Linked DNA regions of Homo sapiens: all the other regions are linked to region 3. The links are contacts of gene promoters, found by promoter capture Hi-C in blood cells and fetal thymus (Javierre and others, 2016). All regions are on one chromosome and are shown on one strand. Each heading gives the region's core, a stretch centred on a gene start or on the middle of the fragment in contact. The rest is flanking DNA. Distances are from core to core; before and after follow the strand shown.

Region 1 (3,987 bases), core at 1,488-3,987, 600 kb after region 3:
GTGATCTGGGCCCCCTCACAGGAAATTGTGGGCAGGAGGTCGCAGCGCAGAAGACGGGGAGGGGGCTGGGGACTCAATCTCCGCCTCTCCCGGCTGGGGTAAATAGTGGGGAGGGGGGCACGCGGGGTGGTTGCTAAGCGACGTAGATTCGCTTCCTGTTTGCTGCAGCTTATGTTGTGACACTGGTGGGGGTTAGAGACAGCGGAGGGCCTGAAGACTGTGGGGAAGGCCGAGGGCAGGACGCCTGGTTCCCGGGACAGGAAGAGCCCTGGGAGGAAGGCGGGGAGGTAGCGAGCTGCGCCGCGACCGAAGGGGACTCGGTGGTTGTCCGGAGGGGGTTAGGGACCGAGGCGCAGCGTTGACCTCGGCTCCCCTTCCCTCCCCTGGGTTGCTTGTCCTGTTGCCAGAGTAACTGGAGGGCGAGACTTGGGAGCCGGATTCCCGAACTCTCCCGTCCGCCCAATCCGCTCCAGCGGTCGGCCCTGACGTCAGGGCCCTGGCAGCCAATGGGGAAGGGGGATGATAGCGACAGGAAAGGGAGAGGGGAGGGGCAGCGGCGGAGGCTGGGAGGCAGCAGCTGCCTGGGACCCGCACGTGCACTCCCACACGCTCGCGCCCACCCCCCGCCCTGCGCCGCACGCGCCCGAGCACCCCCTTGCGCCTGCGCGGCGAGCCGGGCGCCCCCCTCCCCTCGTGGAGTCTGTGTAAAGCCGCCTGAGGCTGCGCTCTTCAGCCCCTGGGGACCCACACGTCTCGGTCGGTCTGCACCGTTTCGCCGGTCGCGACCATAATGCCCAGCCTGGCTCGGGAGGGCCGACTACCTGTTCCCCACCTCCCCCCAGCTGGCGCCCCACACTCCCAGGTGGGCTGGGCGGAGCTGTGGTTTCCGGCCCCATCTGCTCGGCCGCTGCCTTCCCGGGCTCTGGCTTAAGTTGCTTTCCCAAGAGAAAGCGAGCGGGTACCAGCGCCCCTTCCCAAGGCTTCTCCCGCCCGGGCCCAGCTGCTGTTGGTGGCGGAGGAGGGCACTGCGGGGAAGCCCCGGACGGCCCAGGTGATTCTTCTGGGCCATCACGCCCCTTCTTCGCGTGAATTCCTGCTCTTTGATGTGCACCAAAACCCTTCCCATTCCTAACGTTTCCTCCTCGTTCGCCCCGGCGTTCTTTGCACCTCCCTCGGCTCCTTTCGGGCTGTCTGTCCCTGTCTCCACTCGTCCTTCTTCGCTTCTCCCGGTTATATAACTCTTCCTCTCGCCGTGTCCTGGTTTCAACTCCACAGACTCCGCCCTGGAACAGCGCGGGGAGGGGCGGGAGAGTTGGGGACCCAGACAGATTCCGGCTGGCGGCCGGCTGGGGCACGGGGGATCCTGCAGATGGAAGACGGAGCCCCGCGGGACCCGGTGCCCCCGTCCCCGCCTGCCGGCCCCCACCGAGATCTCGCCCAGGAGAGAGAAGGCACAGTATCTCCGAGGGGCGTGTCGGGCCGACTCCCGTCAGAAATGTGGGTTGGGAGGTCAGGGCTGCAGGCGGAGAGGAGGAGACAGGCAAGAGGCCTGAGTCCCTGGGATTGGAGTCGTATTAGGGGTAAAAGAGATAAGGACGCCTGGGTTTCTTCTTATGTCTCCTTTTTGGGTTCCCAGAATTCCTAAGGGTGTTTCCAGTGTTTCCAGGAAGCTTAGCCAGCACACCCACTCCGCCCCGTAGGGGTCAAAGGTCTGTGTTAGAGGTGGCCTGGGATGATGTCACTAGTGCACGTGCCCCGGGATGGTTGCCAGGCAATGAGGCTTCCTCCCCCTTCTATTCCCTCCCACCTCTGCCCCGAGTCCAGTTCCAGTCCCGTGCCATCTCTTTCCCCTCTCCCTTCCCGTGGTCTTAGCATCCTGCAGGTGGGAAACCCCGGCCTGGAGTTTTGTGAGGGGGAGGGGCACGGGTGTGGTGTGGCTGAAAGACTTTGCCCCTTTGCTGGGCTGAGGGAGCCTTGGGTCACTTTTCCCTAGATTGGCACAGAAGAGCTTCCCCTCCAAGGCTCCGCCCCCATAGAAAAAGCTACCTAGCCGTCATTTTACTTTCCCACCTGCTGCATGGCCAAGTGTCCTATTGCCCCCTTCCCCAGATTGATTTGAAGTGGGAGTGGTTGAAAGACGGAAGAGTTGTGTGTAGTATGGGGGGGGGTTCACTACACACCAGCTTATCCCTGAAATCCCCATAATGGCACACCCCCATCTGCAAACAATGAAAGGAAAAGGGTCAAGAAACAGTATTAGGCTGAAAAGTCAGGGTCTTTATTGTGTGTATGCGGGTGAATCGGTTTGTAGCCTCTCACTTGGTGGAGGGGGACTCAGTTGATTGCTATGGTTGTTCTTCTCTATTAAGTCCCAGGGTTGGTGATGGTATTGGAATGAATCGGTTTGTGCTTTTATGTACCTTAGAGCTTGGGCTGTCAGATCAGACCTGGATTCTAATTCTAGCTCTGTCACTTAGTGGCTACTAGGACTTGGAGAGGTCAGAACCTCTCTGAGCCTCGTATGTTAATCTTGAACATTTAAATATCAACACCTACCTTGAAGGCCGCTGGGAGGAAAAAAATGAGATAATTTATGCAAATCACTTAGCACAGTGCCTGGCACAGAATGAACACAGAATGAGTGCTTGTTGTTATGAAATACTTTTATTATTAAATGGTGTTAGTTACTAGTTTATTATTATTGCTGTGGGTCTGCTCCAAACCAGCGGTAACCGTAGGAGTTTGTTAAGGGGTAGTGGATAGTTTGTGTTAATTTGGAGATTGGGGTTAGGGGGCTGGGGATTAGCTTCAACTGCTTTGTGCATTTTATTTGATGAAGGCTTTAGGCAGATTTGTATTGCTTTCTTTAGGATTATTTTTTTTTCTCTTGGACAAGAAATAGCTAAGACTATTCCGTGGGCCTTGAAAATAAAATAATTGTATTATGGTTCTTGATTTTGAAGCAAGACCCCAGCCCCCTCCCGTGTTGATCTCTGGAGCCTTTCGTTTTGCAGAGGGACTCCACAGTTTCTCTAGTGGGGACAGGGCTAGGCTGAGGGGTGTGTAAAAGGTTGGGGTGGGTGGGTGGAGAGAGACTAGTGCTGGGGGCTGGGGGGGCGGGTAGTTAAAGGAAGAGACCGGAAGGGAGGAGGAGGGAGCCTGCTGGTGGGGAGGGAGGGAGGGGAGGAGGAGGTGGAGGAGGAGGAGGAGGAGGAGGGAGGGGGTTGGGGAGAGCCTGCTACAGTTCTTTGTTTGACTCCGGGACTCAGGGACGGGGAGGAGGAGGGAGGGAATAGAAGGGGGAGGAAGCCCCCCCCCCCACACACACACAAACACACACACCCCAGCTGTTGGACAGATGAATTACAGCCTCCGGCTTGGGGCCAGGGCTGGTGAGGGATTAAAGCTCTGGGGCTGGCCCTTTAAATGGCTGTTAGCCCCTCCCCCACTCTGTTGTCCAGACACCCCTCACACACCCTCTGACCCCCTAGGCTTCCCCCTCACTCCTCCTCTTGGTCTGTCCTAAAGTCTGCCCACTCTGCTCTCGACTAGCCCTTTCCTAGTCCCTCCCCCCAGCACAACCGCAGAACACAGATGCCACAGACTATAGATACACACTCTCTGCTCCCAGGTTATGAGCCTCCCTGTCCTGGAGAGTTCTAGCCTGAAGCTCCCTTCCCGAGCAGAAGGGCCTTGCCTGCCTGACCTCTACCACCTACAGCTGACCACTACCCTGGCTTAGGAAGGAGGCCTTGGTGGGTCACAAATAGCACCTCCCTGGGGGCAGTGTCATCAGCAGCCACAGAAGCTTGCGGAACATTGCATCATGGAGACTGGGGGCTAGAGGCCTGAGTCTCTGAGGCAAGGGGAAGGATGGGGGCCGGAAGGCTAGGGAATATAGAGATTAGATTGGGACCCCAAGTGTTTGGGTCCATAAGGGCAGAGAACTATGATTAAGGGAGCAGAAAACATAGGTCCCTGAGGAGC
Region 2 (4,075 bases), core at 192-2,691, 920 kb after region 3:
CTGAGTCCTTGCCGTTGCCTGAGGAGGAGCTGTGTGAGCTCCGCTGAGATGCGCCTCTAGACTCATGCCCGTTGGACTCATTGCCACTTGAACCATTGCTGTTGGCATCGGTGTCATCGGCCAGGCTGGGGCCTGGGCAAGGCCGGTGCTGTGGGGGCCCAGGGGATGGGACGCCCCCAGGACAAAATGATTCCCCAGGCCTGGGGTCCCCTCCCCCATCAGCCCCTTCTAGGGGGCCACTCATGTCTGGGCCATGGGGAGAACAGAACAGAGAAGGCAGAGAGGCCACCACGGATGCACGAGGGGGCCTGGAGGCTTGGCTGAGGGAGTGAGGTGGAAGATCTAAGTCTCTGAGGGTTGAGAAGTTCGATCACAGCCAGTACCTGGAGAGGGAGACCAGGAAGCAGGGCTTGCAGAAAGCTGGTTTAACTCCAGAGCACCTGCTGGCTTCACTCAGACCTTCCCCCTGCCTGGCCTCCTGCAGGACTGATGGGAGTGGAACCCAGGCCTGGGGCTTCCAATGGGGAGTCAGGATGTCTCCTGTACCCTTAGGGGGACTGCCAGCGGGAGAAGGTTCTCCGGGGCCTTCCTTCACATCCCCTGCCACCATGGCCTGAGCAGTCAATGAGAACCACGGCTGTAGACAAAAACCTGGACACTTCCCATTCCCAAGTTCCCATTAGGTGTCCACTCTGCCTGGGCCTCCAAGGCCTCGGAGCAGGAGGTGAGCTGGTCGCCTCCTATATTTAGGCCTCCAGGCTAATTTTATCCGGGGGCGGTGCCACCCCCGCTGCACATGCGCGCCGACGTGCGCGGCCCCACCACGCGCTTCCGCCGCCGCCACGGTCGCCAGGGAAACCGACGTCAGCTGCTGAGCTCAGCGGTTGCTGGAGGGACCACAGGAGGGCGGGAGGAGCGACCCCTCCCCCATTTCCCGGCGGAAGTGGGGGAACGGCCCACTCTCACACTGGTGGGCGCGGCCGGGGGGGTCACGCATCCCTTACATATCCCCAGTCCCAGGATGGCTCGGTGGCCGTAAGAAGTGGGACGGCCTATTAGGATCCCAGGGTTGGTCCTGGCTTCCCCAGGACGAAGCACAACGGCCACTGCCCTCGGCGCAAAAGCCCCTCAACCTGACTCTCGCCTGGATCCCAGTCATTCTGGTCAAGACAACACAACCTTTCCTTCTTTAGCCCCTGCGCTGCTTCCCCACCACAAGGACCGAAGCCGGCAACCTGCCATCGTCAAGGACCCGAGGATCCTCTCTCTTCAGTCCCCTACTTTTCTGGCCAGACCCCCCCACCAACCCCAAGCCTTGGGCAGAAGACACACAACAGCCAACAGATCTTTCTTCCCCTACTCCCCGTCCAACCACACCCCTACTACTGAGCATTTTCTGAGCGCCAGGGGAAAAGGGAAGGTTGTGGCCAACAGCAGGAACCAGCGCTGGGAACGGGATGTTCTAGTCCGAAGTGGGCTGACATCACAGGCGGCGCAGGGCCAGGGACTGGAGAACAGAGACACGGGGAGCGCTGAAAGCCTAATAGGGTCCTGGTACCGGGGCAAACCTGGGGCCCCTCGAGTAACGAGCAAGAAGACCGGGGCATGCCCGCTGAGAGTCGGCTGTGGGGCCGGGAAAGCTGGGACGGGGAGGTGGGGACAAGCTGGAGGTAAGATGAGTGGGTCAGGAGTGCAGACTCCCGGTGCAAGATTTCGAGGAGGACTTCGGTCCTTGGGGGCAGGGAGAGGGTGGGTAGCGGTAAGGACGACAGTGTGCCCTCTGCCTGGGCCGAAAGTAGCCCATCAGATTGGAAGTGGCAGCGGTCCGGCTCAGGGACGGAGATCGGCCCCAGGATGGCCGCAGAGATGCCTACCTGGTCGCAGGAGTGTCCTCCGCACGCCTGCCCGCCGCCGCTCCAGCCCGCAGCCGAGTGGAAGCTCCACCGGGCGGGCGGGGAGGCGGGTTGCATAATGCCGGGCACTGCCCCCTCATTGGCCTCTTGCCGACGGAGCCGCAGGCCCCGCCCCCGATTGGCTGGGGATCTCTTCCCGGCGCCTGATTGGCTAGTGGTCTCCACTAAGGTCAGGGCTGTGTCACACACACGGGCGCACGTGGACCTGGGTGCTGGTGCTGGGCTGAAGAGCCCCAGACACCGCCCAGCCAATGGGCGCAGGACGCTTGCACATTGAATAATGGAAGGGAGGAGAGAGGGAGATACGCTGCGCCTCTTTAGGGAAAAAGCCCGGCCCGGGGTAGGTGCTCAAGACTTGTCTACTTCCTGAACGCACTAGCCTTGCAGAACACAACATCTTGGCATCTTCGCCTTTCCAAGGGTGAGGAAAAGGAATGGCGCTGCAAGTTAGGCCACGCTGGATGAGATGGGTGGTCCTTGAGAGGAGGGGAGAGACAGAAACCTGCCTGGGCCTCTCCTGGGTTCCTTTCCCAACCTTGTTCCCTCCCAACCTTCGTTCTACATAATGAAGCCCTTTAACCGAAGCACTTCCTCTGACACTTCAAATCCTGGGAGAGGACAGTTAAGGGTCCACGTGTGACCGGTGGGTGAGTGGGTGGAGGAAGGATGCGGACAATGGAAGGGGCAACCAGAGCCAATAGTGGCTGTGAAGGGAAACAATGGCAGGTGCTTCTATGGCCACTCAGAGACAAGGTCTCCGGGCAGCCTACGTGGTGTCTAGTACTTTCCTCCAGAGGACGCAGCCACCCACAGTTAAAGCTGCCCCAAAAGTGGGGGCCAGGAAGCCAGGACTACAGAGGGACCAAGGGGATGGCCCAGAGAAGAGGCCAGCTGGGGCCCTAGACAGAGAAATGTGGGGTGGCAAGGGCTTCATATTTCCACTGCTTGGAAAAGAGAAAGCCAAACTCCAGGGGCCCAGACGGAACGTCATCTGTCTCATTCACTGTAGTCTCCAGAGCCCAGGACAGGACCTGACACATGGCAAGTGATCGATAAACATGATTTTTTTTTTTTTAAACAAGGATAGGTTGGGGAGGTGGGAAAAGAGTGTCAACAGGAGAAAGGGGGCTGGGAATTCTGATTCTCTAAAAGAGATGAGTAGTCCTAGAAAGAGAACAGGGGCACGATTTGCAGGCAATAAAATGTTAGTCTGGGCTCAGGAGAGCTGCAGTTACACAGCCCCCTCCATCCAGGACCGTGATGAGTAGTTCCTCGCAGGGCTCCCTGGAAACGTGGGTAGTAGATGAACAGGCCTCCAAGCAGCTGCTGACATAATCATTGTGGGGGCACTCCCCTCACTGTCACGTGGCCTAAGCTTTCCTGAACAATGAGGGAAGGGTGAAGGGGAGGGCTCTGTGGAAAAGCTGAGACAAGATCGTGTTATAAATTAACCCAGAAAAATCGAAACAGGAAAACAAAAGATTCAGGAGCCTGGAGGCCGGGCGCGGTGGCCTGTAATCCCAGCACTTTGGGAGGCCCAGGCAGGCGGATCACCTGAGGTAGCGAGTTCGAGACCAGCCTGACCAACATGGAGAAACCCCGTCTCTATTAAAAAAAAAAAAAAAGATTCAGGAGCTTGGATTCTCAGTCTCCTCTCCCTGAAAATGATCCTCTCCACCCCAACTCATACTGTGGCTTTGGCCTTATCTCGTTTGCAGATACCTCTTCCCTGGAAACATGGTTTTTCTCCCCCTTCAGGGATTTAGGTGTGATCTCCCCTAACCCAGGCAGTCCTTGATCTCCCGCCTCCATCTCCCTGTCTTTTGCATAGACAAAAGGCTCCAGCCCTCCAGCAGCCCCCGCTTGCTCCCAAGACTCTTGTTGTCCTGCTTCACCGTCCCCACAGTAACCAGGCCCTGCTGCCGTCAATGGAGGCGAGGGGGCGGGAGACAGCAGTGACGTCAAAGCGGAAGAAGGGGGCGGGGCGAAGCTGCCTCGGAATGTGGGGCAGGGAGGCTGGAGAGACTGGAGAGGCAGCGGTTTGGGAGGCGGCCAGCCCGAGAGGGCGGCGGCCAGCGCACTTGGGAACATCATGTTCTCTTGGCTGGTGGCCCAGGACATGCACCCAGCCTGGGCGCCTCCCCCAACAAAACGACAGCCGT
Region 3 (3,784 bases), core at 1,279-3,778:
ATTCTGCACAAAGCAATCTGCTCAACCTGACAGATCCCAAAGCCCAGCCTTGGGGTCATCTCTCCAATGGGTTCCCTGTGGTGGACCGGACTTGCCCCTTCTTCTTGACCATGACATCAAACCATGAACACTTACTCTGGTCAACACCATGTCCTAGCCACACACCACACACTGACACTTAAGCATTAACAAATACTGTCGACTAAATGAATAAACGTATAAAGCATCAGACTCTCTACCCTAGTTGTTCCTCTCTCTCTTTCCACACACAACCTTAGCCCCAAATTAGGACACCTTGTCTAATTAACCCGTTAGCCTAATATGGTCATGGGAGCCAGGATATATATCAACATAATCCATTTGCTGTCAACGTGACAACACAGCCCAGTCACTACTAACCCGTCTCAGCATAATGTAGGATTCTTCCCAACATAACACAATCTCAGCACAGCTTGGTCCACTCTGAGGCAAATTATTCTGTATCACCATAACCTACTTTACAGAGTGGTCAGCCTCAATGCTAATTACAATTACCATTCACCAAGAATTTCCCGTGTGCCACACACGTGAACTAACCATTTCATTCTGTGATTTTCTCCATGTCACAGATGAGATCAAGACACAAAATTTAAATAAATTGTCCAAGATTACATTGCTGACAACTAGAAAAACCTTGCCTTAAAGCCAAGATAACTCCCAAGATAGTATCAGCATCCCCATGTCAAACAATCTTTCTAGCTAGAGTCCAGTTTGTTCAGTTCTTCTAAAACCCATGCTATCCCAACTTAATCCAGCCTGCCTTCAAAAAAGCAGAGGTTGGGCCGGGCGCGGTGGCTCACGCCTGTAATCCCAGCACTTTGGGAGGCTGAGGCGGGCGAATCACGAGGTCAGAAGTCAGAGACCAGTCTGGCTAAAACGGTGAAACCCCGTCTCTACTAAAAAATACAAAAAATTAGCCGGGTGTGGTGGCGGACGCCTGTAGTCCCAGCTACTTGGGAGGCTGAGGCAGGAGAATGGCGTGGACCCGGGAGGCAGAGCTTGCAGTGAGCTGAGAATGCGCCACTGCACTCCAGCCTGGGCGACAGAGCGAGACTGTCTCAAAAAAAAAAAAAAAAAAAAGCAGAGGTTGAGGACCCAGAAGGCTCAGCCCCAAAGACCATAAACACAAAAGGGCTTTCTCTGCATTATTTACACGCCAATCTAGTCCAAGATAGCCCTGAATGTCCCAAATTACCCTAGGATAGCCCAATCTATTCTAGCACAGCCTACAATGCCCCCACACGCAGCTGTCTGCACCAGTCTAGATTGGAACATCCCAATACGGCTGCCTGTGCTAGCACAGGCCCCAACAGCCTTGTCTGCCCCTATACCGAGTGCTCCAATAAAACCAAGTCTTGCCCCAAGAGAAACCAGGATTAACCAATACAACCCAGTAGAGTCCATAATGGCCCAAGTGTTTTTTGTTTTTTTTCTGAGACGGAGTCTCGCACTGTCGCCCAGGCTGGAGTGCAGTGGCGCGATCTCGGCTCACTGCAACCTCCGCCTCCCAGGTTCAAGAGATTCTCCCTGCTTCAGCCACCCAAGTAGCTGGGACTACAGGCGCGTGCCCCCACGCCCGGCTAATTTTTTGTATTTTTAGTTAGTAGAGATGGGGTTTCACCGTGTTAGCCAGGATGGCCTCGATCTCCTGACCTCGTGATCCGCCCGCCTCAGCCTCCCAAAGTGCTGGGATTACAGGCGTTACAGGACTCCTGAGAACGTACTAAACAACCAGACAATGGATCAATTTACTCAGTACAGACTAGAATACTCCAACATAAACCAGTATGCCCCCACCTATTCCAGTAAAGCCTAATCTTGTCTAATCTGGTTTAGGATATCCTAGTCTGTCCGTGTGCCTCAATCTATCCAAGCATAACCTTGTCCATCCTGGGATAGTCAACCTACCTCAGCATAGTACAATCTGCTCCACCATAGGCCAGAAAATCCCAGTGTGGCCCAAAGTAGACGTGTGCCCCTCCATGTCGCCCAATCCACTCTAGCAAAGCCCCCGCCGGTCCTATCTAGGCCTTGCGCTCACCCGAAATCCTGATCCATAGACTTGAAAAAGTACTTGGCGCCCGCGGGCCGCTGCAGGACGCTCTTGAAATCGCCGAGGGTGATGCGCTCGGCGGGGACAGGGATCTTCACCAGGTAGGGAGTCTCTTCCTCATCCAGGTGGTAAATCACCTTCGTCTCCCCAACCCCACCGCCCCCAGTGCTGCTACCCGCCATGGTCTCGCCCGCGCGCTCCCGGGCTCCACCGCCCACCCAAAGGGCTAATGGCCCCTGCCGCGCCTGCGCACACCCGCAAACCGACGCGCGAGCGCGGACAGGACTGACCCAGTACGGGAGAGAAGCAAAGGGGAAAAAGCACGGATCTGCGAGGGTGGCGGCGGGGGGCGGGCCGCGGGGTGCGACTCAAAGCCCCGGTCTCAGCGGCCGCCGCGCGCCACCGCCACCGACGCCGCGAGCTTCCTCCAGGTACCCGCCCACCTCTCCTCATGTCACGTGACTTAAAGGCAGCCACCCCGCGCTCCTCAGCCGCCCTCCGTCACGTGATCCCCTCCCAATCACGTGACCGTCTGACTCCGCCTAGTGCCCCCGCCACATGATCGCTGCCTTCAGCAACGGTCTCCCAGCCCCCAAACGTGTACCCCAGCCGAGGTCCTCTGAGCACCCAGGCTAAGCTGGCCTGTGCCTTCAGGAAACGGACCATCGGCTCCCACCCCGCTTTACCCCACCCACGATGGAGCACGAAGCAACTCTGACCCGCAGGAGTGTGCGTGCAGGGAGTGAAGGTGGGGACTGTGGGGGTTCCTAGACTCGAGTGGGGAGGGCCAAATACAATGAAAGCTCTAAGGTGGCTTACTTGTCTTGGGGTGGGAAAGGCCCAGTGCTGTGATATCTTCAGATTGGACTTTGAGACGTGGGTTTCAGCCCCACCTCCAGCTAGTCTTCAGCCACCAAAGCCTCCCTCCCGAGCAGGACAGTGAGGGCTATAAACACAAAAGAGCCCACTCTGCTTTATTTACAACACGCAGGCTGTCTGTACAAACAGCGGCCGATATTATTAAAAACAAAAGAGGTGAGTGAGAATCGTCACCTTTCTGCTTTCCTTCCTCACTTGGCCAGGCTCTAGTACTCCACCTTTGAGCTGCCATGCCCAATAGGGGAAGTCCAAAATTAAAAATACAACCGGTGTAGAAGAAAATAAATGGGGAGTGAAATAGAAGAAAAGATGAGGGAGGGGAGTGCTAATATTTACACTAGAGTTTTATAGACAACTGTCCCATTCCATCCCAATTCCAATCCTGACCCAGAAAGTGATGGTGGCAGGTCCAAGAGACAGAGATTATGTGTCGGGACACAGACAGCCTCCCATCCCCAACCGTAATGGATTCAATTTCAAGTCCACAGAGTGGGGAGGAAGGATAGGGTGGGAAAGTGAGACACTCATTTTCAAACAAGTCTCCCTTGAGAATTCCTGCCTTGAAGTGCAGACAGTATCCAAGCTCCAGGGGATAGGCTGAGGACCCTGAGGCTCAGTTCCCAAATCATGTTGTCATTTGGAAGTTCCAGGCTAAAGTTGGTGCCATCAGGGCTCTCCAGATTTGGGAGGCCCCCCTAACCGCCGGGCCTCTGGCCTCAGTTCCTTGCATTTCTGGCAATAAAAGAAGTCGGGGACGTTGGTCTTCTTAATCTTAGCACAGGAGAGGTGGATCCACGTCCCACACAGGCTGCA

The links. The method cuts DNA at HindIII sites, captures the fragments that hold promoters and counts their contacts. A CHiCAGO score of 5 or more calls a contact.
Region 1: a contact is called between a fragment that was not itself captured here and the fragment with the promoter of DVL2 in region 3, in 3 of 17 cell types (M0 macrophages, erythroblasts and naive CD8 T cells). The highest score is 7.2, in M0 macrophages.
Region 2: a contact is called between a fragment that was not itself captured here and the fragment with the promoter of DVL2 in region 3, in 1 of 17 cell types (activated CD4 T cells). The highest score is 5.4, in activated CD4 T cells.

The regions. Positions count from the first base shown.
Region 1 is chr17:7,835,129-7,839,115 of GRCh38, forward strand. The region is part of intron 1 of KDM6B (lysine demethylase 6B); the gene reads left to right. It overlaps LOC124904106 (translation initiation factor IF-2), which reads right to left. Exons shown (of 4, transcript XM_047437265.1): 4 at 280-1,516. The coding sequence ends at 489. Among named protein-coding and RNA genes, the nearest start is that of KDM6B, 2.9 kb to the left of the region's middle. RefSeq lists silencers at 471-890, 911-970, 2,511-2,660 and an enhancer at 1,591-1,640. The HindIII fragment of the contact is 2,138 bases long and covers 1,669-3,806 here.
Region 2 is chr17:8,150,463-8,154,537 of GRCh38, forward strand. It overlaps PER1 (period circadian regulator 1), which reads right to left and starts at 1,942. Exons shown (of 23, transcript NM_002616.3): 1 at 1,875-1,942; 2 at 1-383. The coding sequence starts at 244. RefSeq lists enhancers at 1-96, 566-675, 1,889-2,183, 3,815-4,075, 3,847-3,986 and a silencer at 836-935. The HindIII fragment of the contact is 3,689 bases long and covers 1-3,286 here.
Region 3 is chr17:7,231,989-7,235,772 of GRCh38, forward strand. DVL2 (dishevelled segment polarity protein 2) reads right to left here and starts at 2,529. Exons shown (of 15, transcript NM_004422.3): 1 at 2,081-2,529. The coding sequence starts at 2,274. It overlaps PHF23 (PHD finger protein 23), which reads right to left. Exons shown (of 5, transcript NM_024297.3): 5 at 3,050-3,784. The coding sequence ends at 3,638. RefSeq lists a silencer at 2,267-2,566 and an enhancer at 2,677-2,726. The HindIII fragment of the contact is 14,867 bases long and covers 1-3,784 here.